2 separate regions of the Homo sapiens genome follow, and region 2 is linked to region 1. Evidence: promoter capture Hi-C in human tissues and cell types (Jung and others, 2019). All regions are on one chromosome and are shown on one strand. Each heading gives the region's core, a stretch centred on a gene start or on the middle of the fragment in contact. The rest is flanking DNA. Distances are from core to core; before and after follow the strand shown. Region 1 holds the start of IRX1 (iroquois homeobox 1). Region 2 has its middle 250 kb from the start of LINC02063.

What was found. Contacts are between HindIII fragments. The study calls those that stand out against the background at their distance.
Region 2: a contact is called between a fragment that was not itself captured here and the fragment with the promoter of IRX1 in region 1, in 2 of the 25 tissues and cell types used here (H1 embryonic stem cells and spleen).

Annotation. Positions count from the first base shown.
Region 1 is chr5:3,591,483-3,599,412 of GRCh38, reverse strand. It overlaps IRX1 (iroquois homeobox 1), which reads right to left and starts at 3,581. Exons shown (of 4, transcript NM_024337.4): 1 at 3,032-3,581; 2 at 1-188. The coding sequence starts at 3,307. RefSeq lists enhancers at 1-55, 56-718 and a silencer at 3,584-3,878. The HindIII fragment of the contact is 23,247 bases long and covers 1-7,930 here.
Region 2 is chr5:3,881,758-3,889,687 of GRCh38, reverse strand. No RefSeq gene overlaps it. Among named protein-coding and RNA genes, the nearest start is that of LINC02063, 250 kb to the left of the region's middle. The HindIII fragment of the contact is 5,833 bases long and covers 399-6,231 here.

The sequences.
Region 1 (7,930 bases), core at 2,332-4,831:
GGGTAGGGATTCTTGCGGTGCTCGTTGAGCCAGGCCTTGAGCGTGCTGGTGCTCTCGCGGGTGGCGTTCTTGGGCCGCCCGGGGTCCCCGTATTGGAACTGGCCGTAGGGGTAATAAGCCGGCGCCGTGTGGGCTGCGAAGGTGGCGGGGTGCACCCCAGGGTTGTCCTTCAGTTCATACTGCGAGCCCTGAAGCCACAGGGCAGATCCATCGAGGAGAGAGAGGAGGGAAGTGGAGAGAGAAAGGGAGAGAGAGAGAGAGACATGAGTCCCCAAGACGGGAGAGTGGGAAGCAGCCGCTTCAATGGACTCGAGGGCCTCCCAGGCGCTTTGCGGGGCTCTCCTGTGCTGGGCAGATCAGGAAGTCACCCCCAGTTCACTGCTGGGGAGAAGGGGAGCCAGGACCATGAGCTGACTTCAGGAACTGCCCTTTCACCGACAGTGGAGATCGTTTTTGCCACTCTAGAAAAGTTCCACAAACAGTGCACTCTCCAGAAGAGCACAACAGAGGCCGCGGCCCCTGCAAGTTCCCTAGGCGACCCCTGTCCCCACCACCAACCGCTGGAGAAACCTGCATTTCCAAGTTTATCTTTCACTAGCTAGAGGGAAAAACCTTTCAACTGAGCTGATAAAGCCATTTCTCCAAACGTAAAGGGCCCAGAGCCCAAGCCTCCTCTCTGCCACCCAGAGGGGGCTCAATCAAAATAAACCATCCCGGGTTTTCTACCGGTCTAAATCCGCCAGCAATTTAAAACGAAAGCACAGTCCTTTGCCTTCCAAATTAATCTGCATATAATGGTTTACCCACATTAAAAGGTCTTTAGAGGTGACAGGTAATTTAAAATTTTAATCCCGGCCATCATCGACAACAATAACAAAAACACCATTTTTTTTTTTAATACAAAAGGAAGGCTTAGCCTGTAAAATATTAACGCAAGGGCTGGGAGCCACCGGCGGCCAGGAGGGGAACCGGTTCAGTATCCTAGGCCTCTTCTCAGTTACTTCATCTCTTAAGTTTGACTTTGATCTGGAGGGAGCAAACACTAGCTGTTTGCAGGCATTTAGAGGCGCTGATTTATTTGCAATCGATATTCTTTTTATAATCAGTAGTAAAACACAGCAAGTCAAATTATCCCATCAGGTTTTTTGGTAAATAACATTTTATCTTTCTAACAACCTCATTAGGCCTCATTATTACCATAAATTGCGCAGACAGACATTCAAATACAATTTTATCTTTTGACTTCCAAACACCCAATTATAATGGCTTGGAAACCTAGGCCTAGAATCAGGGTTTGGGTTTGAGTTTACTCTCTCAGAACCAGTGGGAGAGCTGGAGAAACACACACCTTTTGGGTGGGAATAATTTTTACATATTATCCCTCTAGGTGGGAAAAACAACTCAGAACAGCAAACATCTCCCTTCCCCAGCTCTCCACAAAGGGTGCAGGTCCTCACACTGAAGCTCTCTCCCTCCCCCGCAAACACAGGCAGGGTTCCCAAATGGCACACAACTGCATTCGCAATTTCTGTAAAAAATATTCATCCTCTGAAAAAATGGTCTAGTTGCAATGTTAGCAAAGGGAGTTCCGGACTCTGAGAAAGTTGTAAAGACCAGAAGATTTCTTGGACTAATTAGTTTGGTGACTGAGGCCGCAGAGAAAACATTTCTGCGGCTAGATTTCGTTTTTGCCCAATCGTTCCAAAATGTACTTTGCGCTTTTCTAATTATTTTGGTTGTAATTGTAAAGAAGACGTTTCAGCCTCGTCTCCACTGGGAATTCTTTTTGAAAGGACACCTTGTAAATCTCTCATCGCGTCCCGGCCTCCCCGCCGCCTGAACAAAATGGGGGCTGATCTTTTTCGATAGTAAGAGACCTGAAAGGCAGCCGGGCCGCTTTCTTTCAAAACTACAAGAAAAGTTACAGGGAAACCCGCTCTTTGCTTGTGCACACTTGAGGGGCGTTTACTCCCCGCTTCTCCTGCGGGGAGCGGGGAGATATCGCGGGTGCTTGGAAATTGCTTTATCCCGCGGGCAGCGACCCAGGAGGGGGCTGCCTCCCAGGGCCCCGCGCCCGCCGCACAATTCACCAGCCGTCCGAAGTTTAAGCACCGACCTTGCAGTCAGACCAAGGAAAATGGATGATTTGGACCGGCAGACAGGCCAATGCCCCCGCGGAGAATTAAGTGTGCAGCCGCCTGCCCCGACATCTAACGCCCACTGGGACGGGAGACTAAGAGGACACCATTTGTTTTAAGCCAAGGGACACTGTTTTCTTTAATCCTCCATTATGTAACGCAGGAAGAAAAGTGCTTTTCTTTCTGTGCAAATGAAATGAAAACTTGGGCAACTTACAAAAGTAAAATCAAACACCGTTTCAGACACCAGCACATTACTGCAACTTAATTTTTGTTTAATCTCAAATTCGCACTCACGCCGTGGAGAGACCTCTCCATCCCTTTGGACCTCTATTGTTAAGATTATTTTGATTGACTCTACCAGGCTTAGAAGGGGTCTGTCTGGCAAACTCGGATACAACTATCTCGGAGCTGCTAAAGAGGGAGAAAACCAAGTTTTCCAGACTCGGTTCGAAAACTAAAGAGGCCGCGCGAGTGGAACCCGCGGCCAGGAAGGGAAGTCCTGCTACGCTACGCCGGGCCGACCTGCAGGAACCCCGTGGGCCTGCCCGGGCGCCCTGGCCGAGCCAGGCGAGTTTGCCCCCGACCTCCAGCGCGGGCACCGCTCCACGGGCCTGCTTCTGCGGCCTCTCTGAATTCACTCGCTACCCGCTCCCTGGCCCGGGCCTTCCGCTTTCCCAGGCCGAGATGGCCCAGCCGTCACCCGCCCGGCCTCCCAGCCCTCTTGCGTCCCCGGGGGCCGCGGCCTCGGCCACCGGGAACCTGCCCCCGGACCTTTCTAGTTCCTCTTCCGGACCAGGTCCACCCGTAGTCTCTCCCTCCCGGGCGACCCGCCACCCTTGCCCTGGCGCGGGTGAGACAGAGGAGAAGCGGGGGAGGCCGGGCGCACTCACCATCTGCGAGAAGAGGCTGAGATCCGCGGCGTAGGGCAGGAAGGCGCTGTAGTTGGGCGCGCCCGCGTACGGCCCCGCCGCCGCGTACATGCCCAGCACCGAGGTGACTGCAGCCGCGCCTGCCCCGCCGCCCAGCTCCGCGGCCCCCGGTCGGCCCGACGAGGCGGCGGCAGCCGCCGCAGCGGCCGCGGCCAGCACCCCCGGGCGCTCGCCGCCGTAGGCGCCCGGCCCCGCGGCGCTCAGGTACTGCGGGTAGCCCAGCTGCGGGAAGGACATGTCCGCGGACTCGGCGACCGCCGCAGCGGGCGAGTATTAAAGGCGCGGGGAGGGAGGCGGAGGCCGGCCGGAGGGGGTTGCAGGGGGCGCCGCGAGGGGTCTAGGGAGGAGCGGGCGGCCGGCCGGGCGCGCTCGGGCGGGCCGGGAGATGGAGGCCGGTCGCGGCTCCTCTGCCCGGTGCTCGCAGGCGCCCGGCTCCCGGCTGCGCCCGGATCCGCAATCGCGCGCCGACTGCGGCGGCCGCCCTCCGCTCGGCGGCGGGGCTTTCAGACACAATTTGAAGTTGATGCTTTGATTGGCATCCCCTTGAGCGCAGGCCCCGCCCCTGGCTCCCCTCCCGCCCCCTCCCTGCCTCCCGCCCGCCCTCGCCGGCCGCTCCCGCCCCTCCCGCGAGCACGTGGTGCCCCGTGCCGGCCCGGCCAGCTACTCTCGCGGTGGGCGCGCGCGTCGGGGCGGCGGGGTGTGGGCCCGGAGGCCGTGGGCTCCTTCCCGACCAGCCCCCGCAGCTGTCTGACAACCTGTCGACACGGGTTTACAGCTGTCTGACACCGGGTTTGCAGTTTCGCGGCCGAGGTGTGTCCCCTTTTTAACAAAAACAACTTGGCGCCTGCTTTTCTACTGTTTGGGCAGCGGGGAAGGGGCCGGCGGCCTGGACGCTGGTGACAGCGAGGGGGGAGCGGCCTCTCCCCCGAGTCCCGCGCGGCCGGGGCCTCCAGGGGACATCTTTGGCAGAAGTGCACCCGGACGCTCTCCGCGAGCCACTGAACCGGCGTGGCGTGACACCCCCGACTCCAGATGCGGGTTCCCGTGGGCCCCTACTGGGTAGTAACCGATCGTCTGCCAATGACCGGCCTCGCCGCCCTTGGGGAAGCGGGGAGCGGCCGAGCTCTGCGGGCTCTTTCAATTGTGCAAACTTTGAGCGAGGGCAAATCCCGCGGAGAAGTCGCCAGCTCGGGGGAAGCAGGCGCAGTCGGCGCCGCGGGTTCTCGGAGGGAGGGGTGGGGGAGACGCGGGGGGAGGGGCTTTCTCTTCACCCAGAAAGCCCCCTGGCAGCCGGAGGGAAACATCCCCCGCGCCCCCGCGAAGGGGGAAGACGGTGTGGCCTGGACGCCCGGTTTGTCCACCAGGTGTGCAGAGGCAGACAGGAAACTTGTGTGGAACGCGCGAACCCGAGTCGGCGCCGCCGCCAGACCGGCAACGGAGCGGCCTCTTGGGTCCAAGTCCCGCGTCCCTCTTCTCCCTGCGTCTCCCCTCTCCATCCTCAGCCTCGTCGGGCTACAGGACGCGGCCAGGCGCGGCGCACTTGAGATGGGCTCCGTTTCGCCGCGGCCCTGGCCGTGCGGCTCCCGGGAGAAGATGCCAAGTGCACGGGCCTCCTCGCCTCCCTGAGCCTGGGAAGGCGCTGGCAGGCCACTTCTGCGCCTCGTGGCTGGAGAGCTCCGGACGGTGCCGTGGGGAACCGGGTACCAGTCCCGGCTCCCGGGGCCACTTTGCGAACCACCTCCTACGCAGAGACGGGGCCGGGAGTTCACCCCGCTGCGGCTCTCCAGCACACCGGACTCCGCGGGAATTTCAGCAGCGCACTCTGGCGTCTTCTCGGCTTTAGGCCGGGTTGGGGCTACGGGATGAAGGCGGCCATCGGGCCAGAGTCGGCATGCTGTTCTGCTGGTGGTTTGAGCCACCCGTATCCTGGACACCGGCCAGGCGGTCCCTTCACCCCCTGCCTCGCTTCCCTCTCTTCACGGAGCCTCGAGGCCCAGGGACTTCAGCAGCATCAGGAGGGGCTCCGGTTTTCCGGGCCTGAGGACAGACACTGAGACATCGCCTATAATTAGCAACAATAATGCCCGTGATGGTAGTAATTACTAATAACCAGCTCCGACATCGGGCTTGATTTTTCCCTGCTCTGAGTCAGATTGTCTTGCTAGTCATGCTGCTTCCCGCGCTCAATTCGCCCCTCCACACTCCAGGATCCGCCTACAACCTCCAGGGTTCCTTTCCTGCTTTTACATAGATTCCGGGCTGGGTTTGTGGGGACGCCGAGGGTTGGTGGGGAGTGGATTCTTGGTGACACAAATCCGGGAAGCCCCTAACTGCAGCTTTTTCCTGTTCCCCAGCCTACCACCAGACACCTTCTAACCCTAAGACAGATTTCCGATCTTCAACCTCCTCTCCTCTATACCCAAAACAAATCCATCCATTGCCTGTGACTCACTGTGTGAGAAGTGGGCCAGTCCCACCCACCCCTGTCCTGTTCAGCAAACTACAGTGTCACATTTCAGGTTGACAGGGGAGATACGCCCTCTTGAGTGACCTGGAGAATGAGGTGGGATGTAAGTCCAGGGACACTTCTCAGCCTTGGGATTCAGCTACAGCTTATCTGCCTCCATCCAACCCACTGAGCACCACCGCCCACCCCACCCGCAAGCCTCAGGTCTCTCTGCAGCTGGCAGAGCTCTGTGGGGAGGCAGGAATAGGGGAGTGGAGGCTTCATCCTAACTCAACCAGCCCACTCCTCTGTGCCCCGGCTGCATCACCTCCATTGGCATCACATCACAAAGTGATTGCAGGCTCCTCAAAACACCAGGGAGCTGGGTGGGGAGGAGCTGGGTGGGGAGGACCTGGCTGGGCCCCACCTGGAGACTCCCCTGTGAATCCTGCCTGAGGACTGCACAGTTCCTGGGGAAGCGGCACTAGCAAAGCTGGGTAACTTGCTCCCTGGAGAGCCCTGCAAAGGTGCAGAAGGGGAGATTGTGGTCTATTCTCTGCCCAAGGCCAGGGCCTGAGGCTGCACTCCAGGTCCCTCGCCTAAAACCAATTCTAGGAAGTCCTTTCTAGGAAGCTCTAGCAGAGCCTGGCAGGCCCTGACTCACCTCCTCTCTTCTTTCTCCTTGGCCCTTGTCCCCAAAACTTTCACCTAGGATACTAGGAAGCAGGGTAGACTGAGAGAAAGAGAGAGAGAATTGCCACCAAAGCATCCCATCAGAGAGGGGGAGGGGCGGAGAAGGAGCTAGAATCTCCTGGCTCAGCCCCTCCTGGTAGAGTTTCCTCCCACTCGTTCTGCCACTCATTTTCAGCAGCAAATGTTTCAGTGGGGCCCAGGGCTTCATGGCCTCAGATGCTGGAGCAGGCAGAAGGGCTGTGCGTCTGGAATCCGTGGGCCTGATTTGAACGTCCTTTTAAAAATGTCGTGAGAAGGTCTAAAACTTTCCCTCAAAGAGACTGCCCCTGCCGCTGCCCGGACTCAGCATCACTGGCATCTAGGACCATCCCTCTGGTGGCCCTAGGGGTGCCAGGCAAAGGCGATGGACATTGGAATGGGAGGTTGTGTGGTTCCCTCTGCTTGGCCTTCGAAACCGACGCCCCAGCTGTGAGGCGCTGGACCTCTGAGGCAGGAGAGAGCCACTTTGTTGGCCCCTCAGCCACTTTTCCTGCCTCCAAAGGGGGTGGCTGAGGCAGGCCCTGCCGCTGCTCCGGAAGTTGCTCCTGGCGGAGCTGGCCGCACCCGGTGGCTGCCCCCTGGTCACTGTGCCAGAGACAAAGACGAGGAGCCTGACAAAACCAGGTCTAGGGGTCGCTGCGCAGCGGAATCGGAGCTCCTCCTGCTTAGCGCCGGGGATCCAGTCCGGAAGCCCTTGGGCCCCAGTGCTCCGGGGACCCAAGGCACGTGGCCCAGAAGGCTGGCAAGACCCCGCGAAGCTCGGCAATGGGGGGTGACTGGGACACCCCTGCTGGGAAGCTAGGACCTTCAGCGCGTCCAGGGCTGGGACAGATGCAGGCCTCCGGCTGCAGCGGCATGGGCAGAGAGCGCGCGTGTCTCGGGGAGCGCAGGGGGCAGGCTGTGGGGGTGGGGGTTGGGCGGGGAGGAGAGGAAAGGCCCAGAGGCGGTAGTGGAGGGGGACGGGCGTTGGTGTGCAACTGCAGTTTAAGCTAACTTGATTAAGCTGGTGTTAAGGCTTCATGGAAAGTTTACTTGCAAGGTGCTGCTGTTGTTATCATTATTATTATGAGTCAGTTTTCTAAATGGGAGGGATTTTTTATTCCTGGAGAAGATCGTTTCCCTTTTCTCTCTCCCAACCCTCGGTGAGGATTCCACCCGCCCTGCCCCACCCTCCTGGGGCATATTTACATCAGGACAAGATTAAACATACCCAACAGCTTCCTAATTTACAATTTTATTTCTTGGGAAACAGTTCGCTGGTCTTGAAGCTCTGCAGTCCGGGGGTCGCTAAGGAAGAGGAGGATGCTCGTGGGGACGCATCACTCCCGGAAGCCGTCTGTGGGACCAGCCTTTGGCGCCGAGAACCAGGCGACACAGACCTGCCGCGGGATGCAACGGGTGGCGCGGCCCTGGCCTCCTGCCTTCACAATGGCCACTGTCAGCTCCAGATGGCGGGGCTCTGCGCTGGGCCGCGGCTCGGTGGCGACGGAGGCGGCCTGACCTGGCGCCGCGCCCCGACTCGCGCGCAGACTTAGGAGTCTGCTTAAAAACGCACTAGGACTTCGCACCGTCCCTCAGCAGCAGCTGGGAGGCCACCCAAGTCGGCGACATTGAGGCAATAGTCAGACAGTCCTCAGCTGTTGAGACCCCCGGTGGGTCCGGCCGCTGCGACTCGATGGTTC
Region 2 (7,930 bases), core at 2,066-4,565, 290 kb before region 1:
TCACTGGGGCAGAAAAGCCCCTTGTCAAGGGAAAGTCGTCTGTCTCTATTAATTGTGCTGTTGCTAATAAGCCAGAGAATGACTCACTGGTAACCTCAGTGCCCCATCACGTTTTTATAACCTATTTAAACTCCAATGAAAAGAATACTACAGCTGCTGCTACATAAATCACACTCAAACCTGATTTCTGTCCTTTCATGTTAATAAAATTCCATAGCCACTACACAGAAAGTCCCAAACCCTTCACATCTCAGCAGCGTGTATCCGCTCAAACAGGTGGATTTGTAAAAAGCCATTTTCATTTTTGAGCTTGACCCACTGCAGACTAACAGAACACAGTTTTTTAATACCTGTAGCCCCAGCATGGGTGCAAAGAGAGAAGGATGTGGAAACAACAGATCCCAGAGACCAGAGTGGCCGAAGCCCAAGAGACACCATGGCCTGGTATCGAGCCATCTCTGGTCTGCAAAGTACCCAGTACCCAGTGGCCAGGCTGGTGGCTTCATTTCAGTCATTCACAATTTGGGCAGCCCCCATAGCTGCTCACAGGGACAGACTGTGGGGACTGGCTCTGCAGGCAGTGGAATGAGCAGAGTGAGGTCTTCCTTCCTCCGGGGTCTGAGGAGGCCGAGGGAACCCAAGGTCTAGCAGCTGGCAGCACACGGATGCTCGCCTCTGGGTCCCCACCTCAGGGTCCACATCCAAGATCAACTTCTTTTAGCAGCTGGCTCTGGGCCCCCAGATGGATTCTGCATTTTATGGGTGCTAACCTGTGTGTCAGCCTTATTTCTCCACCTAAGGGTCCTCATCCCTGCCAGCAAACCCAGGACAGGGCTAACTCCAGAACACTTTGAACTGAGAGCTACTCACTACAGGATTTTTAGAGATGTGTGTGAAAACAGCTGGGAGGCTGCTGGCTGGAAGAAGCCCTTGGCTGGCAAACTTGACCCAGCTTCCAATGTGTGGTGCACTGTGCAAAATCTCTCCCACACCTGGAGATGGGCTCTTGAGTCCCTGATAACATAGCCCTTTCCCGTCAAGTGAGGTTTTTATCTTTGGGATGTAAAACAAGGGCCAAGCTCTGGCCCCAAGGAGCACCTGGGGACCTGCTGTCTTGCTGGTGCAGTGGCGGAAGCTTGCTGCCTACATCGTGTTCCTGAGGCTCATGTTGCAAGGCGGCATTGCTCTACATGGGCTGACTGGAGCTCTGCAGGTGTGAGGAGCTGCCCAAGAACCATCGGGAACTTTCTCCATCTGCCCCCAAGGGGAGCAACACAAGCTCCTCACATGATAATGTTGGACAAAGGCTCAGAACTTCACCTGAAATGGCAGATTTAATCTCCGGGTCAAAGACACAGCTATCACTTATGAGTTCTGAAATAAATTACTATATTAAAAATGACATAAACCACACAACTGAATCAAAAATGCTGTTTCTGGCATTTGCCCCATTTTCATTTCACCCACATGCCCAGACAACTTTGAACAATATAATTCCTGGAATGATCTGATAAATAGTCAGGAACTGATCTGTTTACCGTGGAAATACCATGATATACAATGGTTGTAATAATTATGGGAATTACAGAGATTCTTTAACACTTTCCAAATGAGATGCCTTTTTTGGCAAATCTAGGAGACCGAGTTTAATTTAAATCACAAATACCTGAAGGATTATTATCCTTTATTAATTGTAATAAATATAAGGTGGCCGGGCGCAGTGGCTCACGCCTGTAATCCCAGCACTTTGGGAGGCTGAGTTGGGTGGATCACGAGGTCAGGAGATCGAGACCATCCTGGCTAACACGGTGAAACCCCATCTCTACTAAAAATACAAAAAAATTAGCCAGGCGTGGTGGCGGGCACCTGTAGTCCCAGCTACTCCGGAGGCTGAGGCAGGAGAATGGCGTGAACCCGGGAGGCGGAGCTTGCAGTGAGCTGAGAGCACGCCACTGCACTCCAGCCTGGGCGACAGAGAGAGACTCTATCTCAAAAAATAAAATAAAATAAAATAAATAAAATAAAATAAAATAAAATAAAATAAATATAAGATATACACTGTTCATTGTATTGTCAGTATATTATGCATAATATGTAATACATATAATAATTATGTATAACTATTTATAATAATAAAGAACAAATCAGATCAGGAGTCCAAATTCCTGCAGACATATGTTGTAAATATTGACAACAGGTGCAGATTTATTTGTATTTTGTTTTGGATGCCTCTTCTTTCTTTGCCCTGGAACCCTCTATGACTTTCTTCTATTAGGTGAGTTCTATTTGTGTCTTAGATCACAATGCACCAAAAAACCTTCTTCCTGACCTTGACATTTGACTTTGATTTCACATCATCCATTTAAATAGGAAAATGGGAAGCTGGCACCAGTCAGATAAAGCCTGCACCTGGGCAGATTTGTACGGTGGGAGGAGGAGGCAATGTTGGCCATGGGCATATGGAAAAGATAAAAGCCAGATAAAAGCCGTTTTAACGACAGAAAATAACGAACATGAGGAAGAGTGGAAAAGAGAGAAAGGGTTTTTGTGTTTTAAATGCAAAGAAAAAGGTTCTTCAAGAAAAAAAACACACACACACATTCTTTTTTTTTTTTTTTCTTCTCCTGAGATGGAGCTGTCTGGTCAGGTTCTTCCAGATTAATCAAGTGTTTAAGTGGAGGGGCTCCTTGACATTTTGAAGTGAGTTGAGACTGAAGTGGTTTACCTCTGACATCAAGTGCTCAGTAGTGAATTTTTATACTTAATGGGATGCAGGGTCATTTCCCAGGAGCTATTTAGGGGACCTTTGTAGCTTCAAAATGTGATTCTACCCTCAGAAGTGCCTACAGCTGATTATTAACCATGATTCATAAATTCTTTAGAAGGTGATCAAGTTAAGTTTATACATTCAGACGGTGACAGGAAGCAGCCTTCTCTGCAGCTGTAAATACCCCAAACCACAATGACAGGGGTGTTTTAAATTGTTTTCTTCTTCACTGCCTTTTATCTGTACAACAGCCTTTTTGAAAAAAAAAAATACCGAATCCTTTTATACACATTTAGAATAGGCGGTGAAGGCAGAAATAAGAATGAGGTGGGAGGTGATCACTGGCCCCCACTCAGAGCTTGTGAATTACCAAATTTCCGGAAATCGCTGATGATGGCACCAAAAAATGTGAGGGACAAAAGAGACAGGAGACAATCGCCAATGGGACCGTGGGTTGCACGCCTTAGGCACTGAATACATCCAGCTCCACCATTTCACCCATAAACTGCCGACATCGCCTGTGTGGGGGGAGCAGAAGGCCTTGCGCGAACCCCCTCACCGTCTCCCAAGCCCACCTCGCCTAAGGCAACGGGCTGTTCCTGTCCCAGGAGAAACAGCCTTTCATTCCCTGGTCAAACAAATAAAAGAGGGCCCAGGCCAAACGCATCAACATTGGAATATGTATGTCACTTGTGCTTGTCACACGGGAACACTTATGAAAAACGCATTTGGAGTCCGGCTTATTCTTCCCTGGGTTTTGAGGGAGTGAACATGACTCTGCCCCAGCTGGGCAGGCTGGGCCAGGCTGAGTGCTTTCCGGAGCTCCCAACACACCCCTGGCCCTGCAAAGACATATCCTTTCATTTTATCATGAAACTACCGCGTCTTATTTGTGCAGTATCACATGTGTCCTGGATCTTGACCCAGAAGCCAGGAACGTCCAAAGTCTCACATTTAAATGTGACCAGCCATCATTTTGTGGATGGAAATTTCTCTTTGCTCTGGTCTTCCCTCTGTAGAGACTGAGGAAGGGCACAGCCACGTTTCGCTTTTAGAGCCCTGAAATGAGAGGCCTGATTATCTAAGGGTGAAGTGGTCATTTTAGTAAAGAAAGGCCTGTCTGCTGTCCACCCTGTGAGCCACTGTCCACCCTGTGAGCCACTGTCCACCCCGTGAGCCACTGTCCACCCCGTGAGCCACTGTCCACCCTGTGAGCCACTGTCCACCCTGTGAGCCACAGCACAGATGCCATGAGATAGCATGCAAATCATCAGGAACACGTTGGCTCCTTAGCTCAGAGGATACTTTAATAATAATCTTAGAAAAAGCAAAATATTAAGTTAATACCTACAGAGTTCTTTAATTTTGTGAGCTCCTCATCTTGCAATATTTATTTTGATCCAGGCTCCAGCAGAAATATTACTAAGCTGACAACTGAAACACTGGAAGTAATTTCAGAATTTTGTTACTAATCAATAATCTATATTAATAATATGGTTACCACTCATGTCTCCCTCTGATATTGGATGTTCTATGCAAAAATGACCAACGCCTTTCTTTGTTGGATTTGGTGATGATCCTTAGACTAGCACTATTCAATCTGTTATTAAATCTGTTGAATCTGTTTAATAGTGCTAGTCTAAGGGAACATCAAGTTGACATGACAGTGTGGTTTCATTCCTCTATGCTCTCCAATTAATTTTTAATAGAAATAAATTGCTGCCTGCATTGGGATTATCCAGAAACATCATTCAGTTGTTCCTCTTAGTGGTCAGAACCTTCGTGTTTACTCTTGTAGGAGGGTGTTACGGGCTGAATCATGTCCCCACAATTACTATGTAGAAGTCCCAACCCCAAGTACCTCAGAATGTGACTATATTTGGGGATAGGGTCTTTAAAGATGTAATTAAGTTAAAATGAGGTCATCTGGATGGACCCTAATCTGATATAACTGGTGTCCTAATTAGAAGGGGAAATGAAGACACAGACAGGTGCAGAGGGAAAAGTATGTAAAGGAATGAGGGGAAGGTGCCATCTAGAAGACAGGGTGCGAGGCCTCAGGAGAAACCACTCCTCTGACACCTCCATGTCAGATCTCCCGCCTCCAGGACTGTGAGACGAGGCATGTCTGTGGTTCAAGCCCCCCAGATTGTGGTATTTTGTTATGGCAGTCCTAGCAAACTCATGCACAGCATGAGTGATTTTACCTTTTCTTTTCTTTTTTTTTTTTTAAATACCTATAGATAACTCTAGCTACCTGTACTTTACTTTAAAGGTATTTTAGTGGAAACCTCAAATCAACACTCCCCTGTGACAGATACTTGTCCTCTGAGGTAGTCCTCACCGAGATTGCACAGGTTCTCGCCGAGATTGCAGACCTGGTGGCAGAGAAGGAGGATGAGCTGTAAGCCTAAGCCTGGCCGGTCAGCCCATGCAGGTGGGAGGGTGACGGCTCCACCAAGCCGCGGGAGACACTGAAGAACAGAGGGAATCACGGGGGCCAGGCCAGGCAGCAGGACGCATGAGACTGAGTGGCATGAGTTATTTTATAAGGCAATTCCCATGTCTAAATCTGAATATTAAATTCAGAGGGTGAAAAGCAAATATTACAAAATTAATCTGCTTAAAACAGAGTTATAAATCTTATTATATTTCCAGCCACTCTAGGTTCATGCCTGAGCAACAGATGTTAAGATTTGGGTATGAAATTGCTCCCACCTGATGTTTGGCAACCCCTAGGCTCTCCCAAACAGGACATCAGCTTCTAGGCCACACGTGCGTTTCCACAAAGGTTTTGAGGGGTGTGGTTTTGCATTCTGATGGGTCAACATTTTGAAGAGACATTCTGACCCAAATGAAGAAGACTAGGAAGAAGGTGCCCATTTATTTCACCCATAGCTACTGCAGGGTTTGGGCATAGGGATGCAGATGTGCACAGCCATGGCCACACCCCGGGTGAAACCTCCTAAGCCCCCTAGGTCCCCAACCCGAGGTCACCAACACCACAGAGAGGCCTCCTGGGGGTAAAGTGCCTACCCCATGTGGGCTTCCCAGGCTGCCTGCTCTGCCCCTGGCTCTCTGACCACCGAGGCACAGAGCATCTGTGCCCCACCCACGACAAGACTAAGTGGCCGCAGCTTTATATTCATCTCCCCTTCCCAACAGCACATATTCATTATAGGGGCATTTTATTGTTAGTTTAAATTAAATGTGTAGAGAGGAACTGGGGCCTGAAGGAAAGCAATTTTAGATAAAATATCCTGAATTTGGCAAGCATTTTTCAAAGCTTAATGAGGAATATTCAGGGTATGTAATTATAGAAATCTACTGAACTCATTCGCCTCCAAGGATGGAAAAGGGAGGGCTGTGGAGGAGAGCAAGGGGCTCTCTTCTGAGGTGGCCAGGACATCCACACTTGCTCATCCACACTCACCCATTCACAAACACACACTCATGTCCACACCCATAACCACACACTTATGCACACACACGTTCACATCCATACACAAGTACACACGCGTGTGCACACTCACACACACACATACTCTCGCATGCACGTGCACACATACTGATTTGCACCAGCTCACTCGCTCTGGGACACACACGGCCTTCAGGAAGAGGCCCTGCATCGCCACTGGTAAGCTTCACTCTGTCATCAAAGGAGCTGGAGGATGGTATCTGTTTCTCCTGAGACGTGGGCCCCACGCTGCTCCACTGGCTGTCCCATGCCTGGGGCCCTCCTGGGGCTCATCAACAGATCAGCTGTGTGAGTGCAAGACCCCCCCTTATGGTAAGAGAACCTCAGGTGCACGTTGTGTGTGGGGAGCCAAGGGATTGCACACAGCCAGATTCCAATCTCAGGGGCTCCTGGCTCACACCTGCAGAGTGATATGGTTGCCAATCTCTGTATTATCCCCGTGCATCCACAAGGCTGCAGCCAGAGGATGCCTGGCCGCAATGGGCCAGGTCCATACCAAGGTCCAGTTCCAAATGAGAGCAGTTCTCTGCAGGAGCACTCAGACCTCCAATGCTCTTCCTTGCTCCTCTTCTCTGAGCATTTCTTGATCCAACTCCTTTCTCTTTCTACCATTTCCCCACTTGCTACCAGCACCTAATTCCTTTAAACCCTGGGATTCCTGACCCAGTATCTCTGCAGAGGTGCTCCCTCCACCATAACAACCCCTGGGAGGGCCTCTTCGTTTCCCACCTCATCCCCATGACCCCACAACTGTCCTCTCTCATTCATTGCCCCTCCGTGTCATGCCTGGAGATCACAGGGTCTGAGGGAGCCATGCTTATCATGAGAGGATGTCCAGGCAAGCAATTGGCTGCATGGCTTCTGCACGGTTTAACAGGTAGGGCCCAAGCAGGTGAGAGACAGCAAGTAAGATGATGGCAGCTTGATGGAGATCCTCAGTGTATTAGTCTGTTCTCACGCTGCTAATAATGACATAACCGAGAGTGGATACTTTATAAAGGAAAGAGGTTTGACTCACAGCTCCACATGGCTGGGGAGGGCTCACAATCATGGCTAAAGGCGAATGAGGGGCAAAGTCATGTCTTACATGGCAGCAGGCAAGAGTGCGCATGTGCAGGGGAACTTGACTTTATAAAACCATCAGATTTTGTGAGACTTATTCATATCATGAGAAAGACCCAACCCCATGATTCAATTACTTTCCACTGGGTCCCTCCCATGACACATAGGAATTATGGGAGTTACAATTCAAGATGAGATTTGGGTGGGGAAACAGCCAAACCATATTATCCAGTGCTGATGATCCCCCAAGACTATTGAGTGACAGACAAGACCTCATACTTTCTCCTGACCAGAGCCTAAACCTCTGGAGAGAAGGTAGGCAGAGGGGAAAGAGCAAGCACACACTGTGGCTACAGGGCATAGTCCCCTGTGAATGGGGGAGTTTAGGGCTGGACAGAGGAACTGGCCCAGATGCGAGTGTCAGGGGTGGAGGAAATGACAACCAGGCTGAATCCCAAGGGTGAGGGTTGAATTTGGAGGTAGGGCCTTGCCTGAGCCCCATGGTCTGGGGTAGCGGAGGCTTCCTGGGGGTTAAGTTGCCCTAGAATGACTGGGGCTGGCAGGGAGACCTGAGCAGTAACTGAGAGAAGGCCCGTGAAGGCCTAGAGAAAAGGGGAGGCCTG